Linked DNA regions of Homo sapiens: region 2 is linked to region 1. The links are contacts of gene promoters, found by promoter capture Hi-C in human tissues and cell types (Jung and others, 2019). All regions are on one chromosome and are shown on one strand. Each heading gives the region's core, a stretch centred on a gene start or on the middle of the fragment in contact. The rest is flanking DNA. Distances are from core to core; before and after follow the strand shown.

Region 1 (2,700 bases), core at 74-2,573:
TTAGTAGAGACTGGGTTTCACCCTGTTGGTCAGGCTGGTCTCAAACTCTTGACCTCAAGTGATCCACCCGCTTCAACCTTCCAAAGTGCTGGGATTACAGGGGTGAGCCACCGCGCCTGGCCTCCGGGGCGTATACTTTTAACCTTCCTATCTGGTGTTGGGAACATGGCACTCAGCTCGCCAAGCTGATGCTGGGAACTTCTCTCTCCCAGCTGCTAACAGAGAATGCCCAGGGGCAGGAAGGACACAGGTCCGCTACCCAGGGACTCTCTACTTCTCCTCCCGCCTCCCTCTCCTCCTCTTGTGTTGCCAAGGGTGGTGTCCCCAGTGAGCTCATTCAGGGAGGCAGGAAGCATGGTGCAGGAAGCCCTAGGTGGGCGCTGTGCGGCTACAGGACACCACTGCCCCTCCCAGGCAGGTGCAGCCAGCTGGCGAGGGACGTCCTCCCAAGTAGGAGCAGAGAAAGCCCAAGCTGTCCCAGGAAGGCCATGGGTTCCCTCCTTGTTCCTAGGAAGTGACCCCCCTTTTCAGGGCAACCAGGACAACAGAGTGTTTTTGGAACATGCTCCTTTCTGTTCTTCTTCCTGGTGCCTCCCCCCAGCTGTAATTAGCATGACTCATAAACCAAATATTCTGGCATTGAACTTTGCTCATCAAAACAAAGATGAAAAGAATTTCATAGATACAGTTGTGCGCAGGGACTGGAGCTTCCCATTTGTGTCTTGTCCTCAGGGGTCCCTGTTCCTGGGCGGGGGGGGGCTGTGGCTGAGGCTCCAGAACCTTAGGGAAGGGGTGGGGGTGACGGACACCAGGAAGGGCAGGAAGAAGTAGCAGGTTACACCATCCCCTGGACGATCCCACCTCTGCCTGACAATCAGTAGCCTCTAGAGATGTTCAAGTGGGGGCACTCCCTCATGGGCCACAGGTTGCCATTTCCCCTGTTAACCTGCTGAAATTGGCCTGCTGGTGTCAAATGGCACAAGGCAGCTCTCTGGACAGGACCCTGCCATCTCCCTGACCCCTTCATACAGGGCAAGAACTCACCTGCCCACTTTAGAGAGCAGTCTGGAAGAAACAGCGACGTCAGCTCAGCTCAACAATGTGTTTCCTTCAGGCTCTCTTGGGGCAGCCCAGCAAGCCGCTCTCATGAGCCAGGGATCCTTGGGGCCCTGTCCTGGGGTCTATGCTGGGGTCCTTGGCCTGGAAGGGCCAGTCCTGAGCTTAAGCAGGGACATGCAGGAGCAGGACATGCTCACTCCTTTCCTCCTTCCCGAGCCCCGCAGTGAGATGCTCCAACTGCTGCCGCTGCAGCCTCTAGTTCTCTGGGAGAGGCATGCGGTGTGAGCAGGAAGGGAGGGGCTTCGGAGCCATGTGGGAAGGATCTTTATCTCTGGGTCCTTGTCAAGGTCACGGCTGTGTGACACTTGTGCTGGGGTGATATGAGTGGCTCTTGGCAAATCAGCACCCCTCCAGCTGCCTGTTCTTGCCTACATTTGATTTCCAGAGCTGGGCTTGGCATCTGAATGTGGTTCAAAGGGGGATGGTCTCCAGCAGGGGCACGGGGACCCCCACAGTCCCCACTGTACACCAGGGCACTGCTATCTTGCCTCTGAGGCCCCCTGGATCTAAGCCGTTCTCCAGCTTCAGATGGGGCTGGCACAGACTGCAGGCCCCTCCCCGGGCCCCCATCCTGTCCAGGACGGCCGTCGGGACGGCTGTGGCCGGGCCGGTGTCTGCCCATCTCCCTGGCTCCTGTAGGAATTTTCCTTGACACGAGACAGAGTAGAGCAGGAGACGGCAGGCAGGGAGGCAGGAGTCGAGGGGAGGAGGAGAAGAGGCAGACAGGCAGGCGGGGCATGGGGAAGTCAAGTTCTTGGTGCCCTGTGCTGGGTCAAATGTTGTTCTTGGCCACGGCTAAAGCCACACTTGGTGGAATGCCCCAAACCCTATGCTTTGGGTTGTACCCATCCCCCTCAGCAAGACATCTGGATAACAGCCACCCTCTGCCCTGGGGAGCAGGGAAGCTGCTGGGAAAGCTGCCAGCCCTGGGTGGGTTCGAGGCAGATGTAGGTCAGAAGGCGGGCAGGGCCCCCTGACTCTGCCCACAGGTTCCTGGGGCCAGTCTTCAGAGCTGGGGACAGAGGTGTGTTCAGAAAACGCTTAGACCCATTCTCCTTGTAAAGAATCTAAAGTGAGAGATGGAAGGATCTGGGTGGGTTAGGGGGTGACCACAGGTCTCTTGCGTCCTCTGGCATTCAGGGGAGCCCCCTCCTCCATGAAAGGATATCAATGAGGGCAAGGCCCATGGTCCTGAGGGTCCTCCCCGTGTGGTGCGTGAACTTAGATTCCTTTGCAACTCAGAGCTCAGGTCTGCTTGTGCCCATTAGAGGGCACTGGTCGGGAGAGAAAAATCATCTGTACCCCAGCACATGGGTCTTTTCCTCCCTTCTTCAGAGCTTGCCAGCATGCTGGTGTCTCTTCACCCTACAAAAGCAGTGCCCTAAAAATGCACATCCGATGGGCCACACTGCCCAAGCCCCTCACATTTTAAGGTGTGTGTGTGTGTGTGTGTGTGTGTGTGCATGCACGCGCGGGTGTTCCTGGTGATCCTGTGCCTAAATCCAAAGGAATTAAACTCCGGTGGTGTATTTTAAGATGCTAGCAGGCTGGCACCAGGGATATCTTAGCACATTGCATCAA
Region 2 (2,700 bases), core at 37-2,536, 190 kb before region 1:
CAGAGTCTTACTGCCAAAACCATGAGACGAAAACAACAGCCATCTAGTCAAATCTTACTGAAAGTCCACCCAGAACCACCTCAAAATTACCAAGGTCACCACTGGAAATAGGGGCTACAATTAGCCATCTCAACAATGTGCTTCTGCAGGGCACGGTGGCTCATGCCTGTAATCTCAGCACTTTCGGAGGCAGAGGCAGGCAGATCACCTGAGGTCGAGAGTTCAAGACCAGCCTGGTCAACATGGTGAAACTTCGTCTCTACTAAAAATACAAAATTAGCCAGGCGTGGTGGCGGGCACCTGCAGTCCCAGCTACTTGGGAGGCTGAGGCAGGAGACTCTCTTGAACACAGGAGGCGGGGGTTGCAGTGAGCCGAGATTGCACCACTGCACTCCAGCCTGGGCGACAGAACGAGACTCCATCTCCAAAAAACGCCCCCAAACAATGTGCTGCTTCATCTCAACAACTATGCCTTGATAATTAACCTTTGCTGCTATGAAGCCATCGCAATTAGCAAGATGTTTACAAACACTTCCCACTGCATGGCCATCTTGTGTTCTTTTTTTTATGTTTTTTTGAGACGGAATCTTGTTCTGTTGCCCAGGCTAAAGTGCAGTGGTGTGATCTCAGCTCAATGCAACCTCTGCCTCCCAGGTTCAAGTGATTCTCCTGCCTCAGCCTCCCAAGTAGCTGGGATTACAGGTGTGAGCCACCGTGCCCAGCCAGTAGCAGTCACTTCTATAGCACTCCCTCTTTGCGGGCTGCTACTCCAGGCACTTGACTCACTCAGAATTTATCGGAGCCTCACGCAACTCTGTAAGGAAGACAGTCTCATTCTTCCATAGACCAGGGACATTCTCAAAAACTCACAGTTACTAAGGGGCAAACTGGGAAGCAAACCCTACAGGCCAGGCTCCTGAGCTGTGTTTTCAACTGCTCTGCTCCCTCCAGAATTCTACTTAGAGATTTTCTGCGATGAAAACATCCTGCATTCCTAGGATAAACATAAGTTGCTTACAGTTTTTTAGAAACTGTGTCATTTGGTAGTATTTTCCTACAATTTTTATATCTATGTTCGTGAAGAAGTTGTGGTTATCCATTTTCTTTCTCGCATTTTCCTTATTATTGTTATCCGAGTTATAGGAACTTTATAGAATGAGCTGGGAAAGATTCTCTCCTCCTCTATTCTTTGGAAGAACGTGTAAAGGATTGGAATTGTTTCTTAAAAGTTACATAGAAATTGGCTGGGCACAGTGGTTCACACCTGTAATCCCAGCACTTTAGGAGGCCAAGGCGGTTGGATCACCTGAGGTCACGAGTTCAAGACCAGCCTGACCAACATGGTAAAACCCCATCTCTACTAAAAATACAAAAATTAGCCAGGCGTGGTGGCGTGCGTCTATAGTCCCAGCTATTTGGGAGGCTGAGACAGGAGAATTGCTTGCACCCAGGAGGCGGAGGTTGCAGTGAACTGAGATCACACCACCGTACTCCAGCCTAGGCAACAGAGTCCGTCTCAAAAAAAAAAAAAAGTTACACAGAAATAACATTGTCTCTGCTTGGGGTTTTTTATGGGAAGATTTTTAACCAATGCTTTAATTTCTTTAATAGTTAAAAGACTCTTCACTTTCTATTTCTTTCAGTTTTGGTAAGTTATATCTTATTTCACCTCTATTTTAATCAAATAGAGCACACCACCACATCCAGCTAATTGTTTCGATTTGTTTTTTGTGTGTGTGAGATGGAGTCTTGCTCTGTCACCCAGGCTGGAGTGCAGCGGCATGATCTTGGTCAGCTCACTGCAACCTCCACCTTCTGGGTTCAAGCAATTCTCCTGCTTCAGCCTCCCGAGCAGCTGGGATTACAGGTGCACCCCATCACGCCTAATTTTTATATTTTTAGTAGAAACCGGGTTTCGCCATGTTGGCCAGGCTGGTCTCCAACTCCTGACCTCAAGTGATCTGCCCACCTCTGCCTCCCACAGGTGTGAGCCACCGTGCCCGGCCTTGATTTGTTTTTGTAGAGATGGGATCTTGCTGTGTTGTCCAGGCTGCACGTTTTATAATACACATAAGATATGCTGATACAACAACAGATGCATAAAACAATTGGGCTAGGCATGGTGGCTCACACTTATAATCCCAGCACTTTGGGAGGCTGAGATGGGAGGATCATGTGAGCCCAGGAGTTCAAGACTACAACGAGTTGTGATGGAGCCACTGCATTCCAGCCTGGGTGTCAGAGCAAGATACTGTCTCTAAAAAAATAATATTTGTATATATATATATATATATATTTTGGAAGTATCTTTTGAAAACGTTTCTGTCTGGGTAATTATTTACAGAAAAGCTTGGCGAACACAGCCCCACCTGACCGATTCACCTTCATGGCCCATTCTGCAGCAGGCATGATTCAAATTTAGGTTTCATCAGTTACTATACATTATGAACTACCCTCCTAAATTTGACCCAGACTGAGAGCAGCAGTGCCACAAGTGCATGGGCTTATCTAATCCAGAGGACCCACAGCCACCCCACTGCTGCAAACCCACACTCACAGCTGCGAGCATGCTCCTTGGAGAGCAGGTAGTTGGCTAGAGGTGGTGTGTAGGTCAAGCACTGGATGGTGGCATTGAGAAAGCAGGTGTTGCCAAGGTTGTGGAGTCCTGCGCCCACGCGGAAGACCCGCTCCCACCTCAGA

What was found. Contacts are between HindIII fragments. The study calls those that stand out against the background at their distance.
Region 2: a contact is called between a fragment that was not itself captured here and the fragment with the promoter of C1QTNF1-AS1 in region 1, in 2 of the 25 tissues and cell types used here (mesendoderm cells and spleen).

What each region holds. Positions count from the first base shown.
Region 1 is chr17:79,026,332-79,029,031 of GRCh38, forward strand. C1QTNF1-AS1 (C1QTNF1 antisense RNA 1) reads right to left here and starts at 1,324. Exons shown (of 3, transcript NR_040019.1): 1 at 1,045-1,324. The region is part of intron 1 of C1QTNF1 (C1q and TNF related 1); the gene reads left to right. The HindIII fragment of the contact is 4,721 bases long and covers 1,302-2,700 here.
Region 2 is chr17:78,832,723-78,835,422 of GRCh38, forward strand. It overlaps USP36 (ubiquitin specific peptidase 36), which reads right to left. Exons shown (of 21, transcript NM_001385174.1): 4 at 2,558-2,700. Among named protein-coding and RNA genes, the nearest start is that of USP36, 6.7 kb to the right of the region's middle. The HindIII fragment of the contact is 6,692 bases long and covers 1-2,700 here.